Regions from separate parts of the Homo sapiens genome. Here region 2 is linked to region 1. Evidence: promoter capture Hi-C in 16 types of primary human blood cells and fetal thymus (Javierre and others, 2016). All regions are on one chromosome and are shown on one strand. Each heading gives the region's core, a stretch centred on a gene start or on the middle of the fragment in contact. The rest is flanking DNA. Distances are from core to core; before and after follow the strand shown. Region 1 holds the start of ARSA (arylsulfatase A). Region 2 overlaps LOC105373100 (a long non-coding RNA gene).

Region 1 (5,182 bases), core at 2,683-5,182:
GCCTCCAGTAACACACAATCTGTCAGGGGCTGCCAGTCACAGACCCATTAACCTGTAACACAGGGTAGGCCTGTTGGGATTGGGCTTTCTGAGGACTGACCAGGCAACAAACATTGGGATGACAAAAGCCCCTTATGGATGGGCCTGAGGAGAGCAAAAACCACCTGGCGACCATCAAACATCAAACAGGCCCTCCGAGGCAAAACTCCTTATCTGGGGAAAATCAAAAGTAACTAAACCTCCCTATTATCTAAAGCAGGCATCTGGTTCCAGATTTCTTCCCCCAAAAAACGTGTAAGTAACTATAATTTCTATGTGTCTCCAGAATACCATGACGAAACTCACTGTACAACCGTCGCTGACATTAAGGCACCAAAATTACTATAAATGTAATCATTTATCATGACTTACGTGGCTAATATGGTCCAAATTACTGTTAAGCCTCCACTTTAAGGCCTATAAATGCCCTTAAGGAGAAATCCACCCGGCGTACTCAGTCCTCTTGCTGAGGCACCTCATTGCACTCTTCTGCAGCATTCTAATAAACTTTCTTTCTTTTCTTTTTTTTTCTTTTTTTTTTTTTTGAGATGGAGTTTCACTCTTGTTGCCCAGGCTGGAGTGCAATGGTATGATCTCAGCTCACCACAACCTCCATCTCCCAGGTTCAAGCGATTCTCCTGCCTCAGCCTCCCAAGTAGCTGGGAATACAGGCTCCCGACACCATGCCCAGCTAATTTTTTGTATTTTTAGTAGAGATGGGGTTTCATCATGTTGGCCAGGCTGGTCTTGAACTCCTGCCCTCAGGTGATCCACCTGCCTCAGCATCCCAAAGTGCTGGGATTACAGGCGTGAGCCACCGTGCCCGGCAAACTTTCTTTTTTCTTTTTTTTTTTGAGACAGTCTTGCTCTGTCTCAGCTCACTGCAACCTCCGCCTCCCAGGTTCAAGCAATTCTCCTGCCTCAGCCTTCCAAGTAGCTGGGATTACAGCCACGCACCACCACACCTGGCTAAGTTTTATACTTTCAGTAGAGACAGGGTTTCTCCATGTTGGCCAGGCTGGTCTCAAACTCCTGACCTCAGGTGATCCACCCACCTTGGACTTCCAAAGTGCTGAGAGTACAAGCATGAGCCACTATGCCCGGCCAAACTTTCCTTTTTCAAACCTATTGTCGGTAAACTCTTTTTACCAACCCGCAAGTTGACCACCACTCCCAGTGCCGGGGCTCTGACAGCTCGCCTGGCAGGGACTTCTTAAGACAAACTAAAAGCTTGACACATTCAGAACAAAAACGGTGCTGCTTAAAATATTAAATGTCTTGGGTTCCCAACCATTTTCAGACTGACCACAAAATGTGACCTGCGAGTCACTACCTCGGATTGGCAGAGGCCAAGAGAGTGCTCCTGAGGTAGGAGGTGGGACTTAGTTGACCCAGTTGAGGATTGGCTAAAACAGGGTTGGGGCAATAGCAGCTTTCAGTCAGATATGCCCGCCACTGTGCCATGTCAGTTTACCATTGCCATGGCAACACCCAGGAGTTGCCACCCCTTTCCATGGCAATGACCCAATGATGACTACTCCTTCCCTAGAAACTTCTGCATAAACCATCCTTTAATCTACATGCAATCAAAAGTGCGTATAAATGTGACTGCAAAACTGCCCTGAGCTGCTACTCTCAGCCTACGGGGTGGCCCTGCTCTGCAGGAGCAGTCACAGAGCTCTAACGCCACCTGTTCAATAAAGCTGTTTTCTTCTACCTCTGGCTTGTCTTTGAATTCTTTCCTGGGCAAAGCCAAAACCCTCACTGGCTAAGCTCCACTCTGGGGTCTGCCTGGCCTGCATCATTCCCACTCGCTCACAACTCAAGCTTTCAAGGACATCAAAAGAGAGGAGAATCTCATCCAGTTTTCAGTTCAGGGACCCACAGCAAAGTCTGTCTAACTAGACGCATCCGATCAGAGCTGCAAAACTGACTAGCCTGCAGGACGGCCCCAAGACGGGGTTTACAGGGGTTTTAGGCCTGTGTTCTACCCTCTTTATGACAGAAAAACACAGAAAGACAAGAATGAAAGACGACTATTTCTGGGGAAAAAAAGCAATCAAACAATATGAATACAAAACTAATCACATAAATACATTTCTCTCATTAAAACTTTGAAGAGGAAAACAAGGTAAACAGACATTTTTACCGTCGGCTTGACAAGATTCCAGAGAGGCCGGGAGCCTGGCTGCTAAGACCTTCTTACCCTTCTTTCTGCCAGCTTGTCGGCTCCTGGGTTCCCCTGACGGAGGCTCCCAGGAGAGTGACTTTAGTTATCCTACCGACTGCACCAAAACTGTAGGAGCCTAGAGAAAAACTTTTCTGCATTCTGAGTTCACAGAAAATCAACTGACAAAAGCCAGGTTAGTAAGAAAAAAGGCATACAGATTTATTCATGCACACAGGGAGAACCAGAGTGATGACCCCAACCTCCCAATGGGGTTCGGAAGCTTATATACCATCTTGAGGTTACAGAAAGAACATGGGCTCAAAGTATGGCCACAGTTTATGGTGGAAAATCAGGTGACCAGTGGCAAGACCGGTTACAGGAGGGAGAGCAGAGGAGGCCTGGCTAGCAAAGGTGGCCTTGTTCTACAGATGAAACCTCACAGGTAGCAGCCCTGAGAGAGAACAGATGGTGAATGTTCCCTTCAGGCCTTTAAAGGCGTCAGACTGTTACTCTTCCCAGATCAGGCAAGGAGGGCCTCAGAGGAGGCCTGGCCGCATCAGTGTAGATTCTCTCCACAGATGCAAATCTCCCCCACAAAAGACAGCTTTTCAGCTATTCTTCTATTTCCAGTCCTTCTGAGTAACTGTCTTGAACCGTGTCAAGGAAATATATTTGGAGGTGACATATTGTGTTTTCCTTCAAGATCAAAAAGGTTAAGTCCAAGGCTGCCCAACGAGGGAGCGAGGACCCAATCACGTTGTCCTCAGATGAGTTTTTCCCCAGCAGCGTAACCCTGCAACAGGCCAGACTGGACCCCAGACACACATTCCACACCACACCACGCCTCCACCACCACACGCACACAACAGACACACCCTAAACACCAGACACACACACACACCTCAACCACCGCAAACACACATACGCCACACCTCTAACACCACACACACCCAACACCACACACATACGTGCCTCAAACACTACACACACCTCAACCACCATACACCTCAACCACACACACCCCTCAAACACCAAACACACCCCTCAACCACACACACACACCCCTCAAACACCACACACCCACCTCAAACACCACACACACATATCCCTCAAACACTACAAAAACACACACACACACCTCAAACACCACACATGCACACACACCTGAAACACCACACACCTGCCTCAAACACTCCACACACACCACACACAGACACGTACACAGCCCCCCGCACCCAGCCACAGCTTACACGCACACAGACACGCGTACGCAGGAGAAAGGGTGTCAAAGCTTTTGCTAGTCGTGAAGGAAGAGCCCGCAGTCCATGGGGCTGCACGGTTTTCCCTGCCATTTGCTCATTCACCGGGTGCCCATAACGCTCCGCGCTCAGGTCTCTTACAGGAGGGCCCGAGTCTCCCAGTACCGGAGGTCTGGGGGCGCACGAGCCGCTCCTCCTCTGGAGAAGCTCCGGACCGAGAGGACACCGGACACTGCGCAGCGCCGAGCCCCGCGCGCAGCCCGGGACGCCTCAGCCAGGGCCGACCGCGCAGAGGAAGCTCCCAGAGCCCGTTTCAAGACCGCAGCCAACAGCCTCAGGCGCACACGGCGGCCTCGGAGCGAGCACGCGCAGCAACGCCCCTCGCCCCGGCCCGCCCCCGGCCCCGCCCCCGGCCCCGCCCCCGGCCCCGCCCCGCAAGGGTCACAGGTCACGGGGCGGGGCCGAGGCGGAAGCGCCCGCAGCCCGGTACCGGCTCCTCCTGGGCTCCCTCTAGCGCCTTCCCCCCGGCCCGACTCCGCTGGTCAGCGCCAAGTGACTTACGCCCCCGACCCTGAGCCCGGACCGCTAGGCGAGGAGGATCAGATCTCCGCTCGAGAATCTGAAGGTGCCCTGGTCCTGGAGGAGTTCCGTCCCAGCCCGCGGTCTCCCGGTACTGTCGGGCCCCGGCCCTCTGGAGCTTCAGGAGGCGGCCGTCAGGGTCGGGGAGTATTTGGGTCCGGGGTCTCAGGGAAGGGCGGCGCCTGGGTCTGCGGTATCGGAAAGAGCCTGCTGGAGCCAAGTAGCCCTCCCTCTCTTGGGACAGACCCCTCGGTCCCATGTCCATGGGGGCACCGCGGTCCCTCCTCCTGGCCCTGGCTGCTGGCCTGGCCGTTGCCCGTCCGCCCAACATCGTGCTGATCTTTGCCGACGACCTCGGCTATGGGGACCTGGGCTGCTATGGGCACCCCAGCTCTACCACTCCCAACCTGGACCAGCTGGCGGCGGGAGGGCTGCGGTTCACAGACTTCTACGTGCCTGTGTCTCTGTGCACACCCTCTAGGTAAAGAGGGGGCCGCGCCTCTTCCCCGCCCCGACCCTCCATCCCTTTCCTCCCAATGGATTGCAGGGGGGCGGGAAAAACGTCTGTCTCTCTCTCTAGGGAAGGCCACATTTCTGTCTGTCTCAGGGACTCTGTGACTTGTCCCGCAGGGCCGCCCTCCTGACCGGCCGGCTCCCGGTTCGGATGGGCATGTACCCTGGCGTCCTGGTGCCCAGCTCCCGGGGGGGCCTGCCCCTGGAGGAGGTGACCGTGGCCGAAGTCCTGGCTGCCCGAGGCTACCTCACAGGAATGGCCGGCAAGTGGCACCTTGGGGTGGGGCCTGAGGGGGCCTTCCTGCCCCCCCATCAGGGCTTCCATCGATTTCTAGGCATCCCGTACTCCCACGACCAGGTAGGAACCACCCGGGCCCTCAGCCACCCTCCCACCTCCCAAAGTCCCCCAGCCCTTGATGCTCCCGCAGCCCCACCTGCCAGCCCAGCCCTCACGGCAGCTGCCCGCCTCAGGGCCCCTGCCAGAACCTGACCTGCTTCCCGCCGGCCACTCCTTGCGACGGTGGCTGTGACCAGGGCCTGGTCCCCATCCCACTGTTGGCCAACCTGTCCGTGGAGGCGCAGCCCCCCTGGCTGCCCGGACTAGAGGCCCGCTACATGGCTT
Region 2 (5,531 bases), core at 1,650-4,149, 110 kb before region 1:
ACAGCTACCTGAATATCATGAAGCATCATTTTTCCCATCTGATCATCAGGAACTAGCATCTCACCTACCAGAGTGTGACAAATGCTTATTGCAAACACCTGAATGTTAAAACATTTCCCATCGCCTGCAAGTGTCAGGAGGTCACACTCTTACCTGCATGAGGGCAGCCTTACCTCTTCTACCTGAATGTAAGATCTCAACCAGCCCGAGGGTCAATAGGTTGCACATCATCTAAGTGGGTGTCAGAAGGTCCCATGCCTCCAACCTGAGTGTCAGGACATCTCATCTCCTATTCCTGAGTGTTGAGTTTTCAGATTATCAGATGATCTTGATTTATCTATTTTCTCTAACTGAATGTCGTACTTATGACATCCTCAAATGAATGTTCAATAGGTCTCGTATATCTTACCCAGTATCAGGGAGTGATCACCTCCTTCTTTGAAAGAAATAACAACTCTGTTTTTCCACTTCAGTGCCAGAGGCCCTCATCGCCTCCACCTACAGGTTAAGAATTCTCACCTCCACCACCCAAGTGTCACCCTGTCGCACTTTCTCTACCTGAAAATCAAGAGGTCTTACATCTTCCAGCTGAATGTCAAGAGGTTGTATTTTACCTATATGAATGTTCTGAAGTCTCCACCGGTATACCAGAGTGTTGGGAGATCTCATTGCCCCCATCTGGGTGCCAGGGCATGTCCTACCCTCTACTTGAATATAGTCTCATATCCCTGTCTAAATGGCATGGAGCTTTCATCTCCTCTGCTAGAGTATCATGAGATCTCCTCTATTCTGGGTGTCCAAAGTTCTCATCTCAACCCCCTGAGGTCTGGAGGTATTCTCACCTCTTCCTGGTTGTCTGGAGGTCTCATCTCCCTTACCTGAGAGTCATGAAACCTCCTATCTCCTATATGCCCTATCTAAGTCATGACACTTTATCTCCTCCGAGTGTCAGGGGATTTTTCTACCTTTATGTCAGGTAGCCCCACTTCCTCTAGCTGAAGGGCATACAAGTTCTATTTCGTGACTTGAATGTGAATAGGTTTCAGCTGCACTACTGAGTGTTAGCGGACCTCACTTATTTTAACTGAGCATCAAGTTGTGTCTCATAAATAACCAGAAAAAGACTTTGGAAATATGGTTCAAGAAATGGCAAGAAGAATTGAAGAAGTGGGCCCAAGTGCAGAGGCTCATGCCTGTAATCCCAGCACTTTGAGAGGGTGAGGCAGGCAGATCACTTGAGCTCAGGAGCCCCAGACCAGCCTGGGCAACACGGCAAAACCCCGTCTGTACAAAAAATACAAAAATTAGCCAGGTGCAGTGGCACCTGCATCCCAGCTACTCAGAAAGCTGAGGCAGGAGAATCATTTGAACCCAGAAGGCAGAAGTTGCAGTGAGCCGAGATCGCACCATTGCACTCAAGCTTGGGCAATGGGAGTGAAACCCTGTCTCAAAAAAAAAAAAGAAGAAGATTAAAGTTTTGACTGTTAAAGAAAATATTATTCGGGTGTTTTTAATGGATAGCACCTATTTCTTTACAAATATTTAGGAGGTATCAATAAAAAAGTCTGAAGACCCAATGTCAGTGTCTGGATTCTAGAAGACCATTACAGTTTGACTCCGCAAAGCTTACCCACTTCTGATTCTAGAAGGGGCTGCCAGTCATCGTGCCTGCCCGTGGCTATAGTGATGGTTGCGGGAAAAGTACCTGGCCCGGCCCATTTAATTTTGTCATTAAACTAATGGAAGCAACAAACATCTCAACTCAGAGTGACTTTGTCTGACCTTCTTCATGCTGTTCTAAGAGCGAAGGAGAAATGGGTGACAGGTCTGGGGCCAGAGGGTGGGGTCCCATCCGAGGGCATGGCTCAGGCTGAGGCAGAGTGCTCAGCACAGGGGGCAGGATGGGGGCTCCCCATCTCCCCTCAAACTCCTCCCTGCTCTCTGCTTCCACCCTGACCCCCAGGCACCCCTCCAGCTCATCCCAGCCATTCTCGCTGCTCCTGCTCACCCCAACCACCCGCTGCCTTCGCCAGCCGTGCCCACTTCTGTCCCCATGCCTTATTTACCTGGGCAATCCAACTCCCACCCCAGTTTTTCTCACCCTGATCTCCAATCCCTTCCAGCCCCCAATCCCCTACTTTTCCATTCCTGTCCCCACCACCCTCCGTGAGGAGCAGAAACCTTATCCAACCATCCTCAATGTCCAGCCAGCCAGGAAGGCAAGAAGATCCCAGAGGGAGTAAGAATGGTTGACGCAGTGAAACCTTGAGGGCCGAAAAGGGGTAGGTTTCAGGTCTTCACCCAGGGGAAGCAGGTGCCTCGGGGGTGGTTTAAGCAAGCAGGTGAGGGTCTGGGTGGCGCCATGGAGAAGGACGAAGGCCCTTTGAGGCTATGGTTGATGACAGCTTGAAAACCAGCCTCAGGCTGGGCAAGGTGGCCCACACCTGTCATCGAAGCACTTTGAAAGGCTAAGGAGGGTGGAGTTCTAGACCAGCCTGGGCAGCAAAATGAGGCCCCCATCTCATAAAAAATAAAAAAAAAATTAGTCAGGTGTGATGGCCCACGCTTGCAGTCCCAGCTACTTGGGAGGCTGAGGCAGGAGGATCGCTCAATTCCAGGAGGTTGAGGCTACAGTGAGCCACGATCATGCCCCTGCACTCCAGCCTGGGTGACAGGGTGAGACCTTGTCTCAAAACAAAACAAAAGCAGCCTCCATGTCCTGGCCCTGCCCCAAAGTTGTCCACAGGTCTTGGGAGTGGCTGGGGGGTGCCAGCCCACAGGAAGAGCAGAGGCCACACAATTTCAAATTTTCAACATTTCCTAATCCTCATCTTATTTTCAGATTAGAAACTGAGGCCATCATAAGGAAAGGGCTGCACGGGAAGTCAAGGAGGGGGGCCCTGCAAGGGTCTGAGTGTGGGAGCAGGGGGCCCCTGACTCGCTCTGGGCCTGAGTGTGTGGAATCGGGAGGGTGGGTCTCCCTGGGCTGCACATGGAGCCCTAGGCCTCCATGGGGACTCAGAGTCTGGGGCTAGTGGCACTTCTCCACGGTGCCACCGGCCCCACCCCTGGCTAAGGTTAACCACAGAGCCAAGGTATGCGATTGTCATTCTGTCATATTCACGCGCCTCCTCAACCCAGTGTGTCCAGGCTCTGAAACCACTGCCCCTCCTGTAAGCAACCCTCCCCACCGGGGACGTCACATCTCTGCAGCCCCTGGCCTCAGTGCTGGGTCCTGTGCCCTCTACTTTCTCACGGCTCCCTCTTGATTGCCTTTGCCCACTTGCCTTACTGTTTGCCCTTCAAGACATAGCTCACCACCTCCTTCCACTCAGCGAGGGGTCTCTGTCCCTCCTGTTGGCTGGCCACCCCCACCAGGTGCCACCCAGGACGTGTCTTTTTTGCCACATTATCGGCTGCTCACATGACTGCCTGTGCGCTCCTGAAGGACAATGTCTTGTCTCTGGTGCTCAGGGTGGGAGCAAAAAGGAAACCTCACATCCAACTGGGCAGACAACCCAAGGTGAGAAGCACCAACTTGCTCTAATTTGAGATAGCACCAGGGCCGTGCAGACGCAGAGCCTAACATCTAACTGGGACTCCAGGGAGGGCGGGTCAGAGAAAACGTCCTGGAAGACAGGATCCGGAGATCAGCCTCCAAGCTATGTATGCTTGATGCAGGCAAACGATGGGTGATCCAGGCAGAAGGAAGAGGGCATGTGTGAGACAGAGCCCTGAAGCGTCATAGCGGCTCAGGGATTGCAGGAGGTGGGGGGAGACTGGCGAGCAGCATGTGTGCATGGGGAGGGAGCAGGGGATGCTGGCAGGGCCACGGCAGCACTGGCTGGGCCGGACTGGCTCACGGGGTCCATCCATCAGCTGCATTTACAGACAGGCTGGTGTTTGTCAGCAGAGGGCAGAAATGGAAACAGAAAACCAGTGAATCAGCAGGGAAGGAGTGAGGGCTAAATCTGGTCTGCAGCCGTGGGGTAGGACAGTTGCGAGAGATGCGAGCGGGTTCCAAGACAGGAGCAGCAGAATTTAAAAGCAACCGGACGCTGGCGGGAGCAAGTCTTAAACCCTAGGCTTAAAACCTGGCAGGGGTCATGGAGGACAAGTGGCCTCCAGCTTAGGAGGTGCTACTCAGTGGGTTGGTGAACAGAGAAAAGCTTTCGGTGCAGAAGGCATGGGCTGAGTTCCAGCAGACTCGGAGAAGATGCTGGAAGATGCCAGGTGCCTAGGCATGGAGGTCAAAGATAGGGATCTAGGAGTCACCCGTGCATGTGGTCCAGGCTGAGGAGGTTTGTGTGGCCGGTATGAGGGACAGACACAAATATCCCCTCAAGCAGGCAACTGAGCCATGGCTTCATTTCTTATAAATTTATTACATAATAATATTATAATAATTATTATCAATAATAATAATATAAGAAACATAGATCTCTGTGGGGCGTATCACAACGTCAGGGTCAGGAGGCCTCAGGACTGGAGCAGGGGGTGAAACCCCCCGGATGGAACTCCATACAAAAGGAGGTGAAGCGGAACTGACCCTGTAAAGTTAAAAACCCAAATTGAACGGAACCAAAACCCACAGGTGAGTGTGAGACCGAGTGTGTATGTGGCAGTCTGTTACAGTGACTGCTGCTGTGTGACCTGGACTGTTGGCGGAAGGATGAGTGGGTGTGACTCTGTGCCCAGGGAGTGGGGCCGGTGGGCCAGGGCGGGGCGGGCAGGCACAGACCGGCGTGCCAGGCCCCTGGGTTGTGAAAACTTCTGTTTTCTTTTTTTTTTTATTTTATTAAAAAAAGCTAGAAATATAAACAGAAACTTGTGAGTGACGTGGATGGAGCTTAGTCCAGACTCCAAACCCTAGGTTTAAAAACGTCCCAGGGCCCCCCACCCCACAGGTCATCGCTGAGTGTGAGGAGTCACAGTGTGGGGGGCTGGGCACCCTCGGGGGTCTTTGACTCTCCCCAGGGCCTGTGGTGAACTGACTCTAGGGGTCCCCCTATGATGCCCTCAGAAGCCCAAGGTGGGGGCGCTGCCTCCAAGGGGCCCTTGGGGCCTCCCCAAGCAGCAGGGATTCACCAGGGAACCCCGCTCAGGCTGGGTGAGGCTCTGGAAGGACAGGCTGGGCAAACAGCTGGACCCAGGGTGCAGGATGGCCTCTGACTTTCTTTGGAAGAGGAGACAGGGTGCTCTCACAGGTACACCCCACGCATGCACACGGTGCACGCCTCCACGGCCCCGCGCTAGTCCAGAGCGGCCCCTGGTGGCCACTCAGTAATCAGGCACACACACGGCTCCCACGTGCTCAGACGCACCCAGTTTCACCCACACACATAAAGGGCAGGACAGGAGACTTTGGGGTCCAAGGCAGGGAGGCTTCTCTGCTGTAGTTGCCCAAGAGCATGGGGACCAAGCTAGCCCCCTCCTTGGGGAGAGACCCTGTGAGGAAGATGGCTGCGGTGGAGCGGCAGGGCCCTGCCCTCATCCCCCCCGGCCGATGGTCTCCCAGGCCGGCTGGTCCC

Evidence for each region. Contacts are between HindIII fragments. The CHiCAGO score rates a contact against its expected background, and 5 or more counts as called.
Region 2: a fragment that was not itself captured here is called in contact with the fragment with the promoter of ARSA in region 1 in 1 of 17 cell types (endothelial precursors); the score reaches 5.6 in endothelial precursors.

What each region holds. Positions count from the first base shown.
Region 1 is chr22:50,626,902-50,632,083 of GRCh38, reverse strand. It overlaps ARSA (arylsulfatase A), which reads left to right and starts at 3,932. Exons shown (of 8, transcript NM_000487.6): 1 at 3,932-4,528; 2 at 4,678-4,918; 3 at 5,032-5,182. The coding sequence starts at 4,305. LOC124905149 (a long non-coding RNA gene) reads right to left here and starts at 590. Exons shown (of 2, transcript XR_007068161.1): 1 at 1-590. RefSeq lists a silencer at 3,848-4,037 and an enhancer at 4,972-5,182. The HindIII fragment of the contact is 2,215 bases long and covers 3,503-5,182 here.
Region 2 is chr22:50,732,047-50,737,577 of GRCh38, reverse strand. It overlaps LOC105373100 (a long non-coding RNA gene), which reads left to right. Exons shown (of 2, transcript NR_134637.1): 1 at 1-188; 2 at 474-1,749. It overlaps SHANK3 (SH3 and multiple ankyrin repeat domains 3), which reads right to left. Exons shown (of 25, transcript NM_001372044.2): 25 at 4,366-5,531. Among named protein-coding and RNA genes, the nearest start is that of ACR, 3.4 kb to the left of the region's middle. The HindIII fragment of the contact is 2,544 bases long and covers 1,628-4,171 here.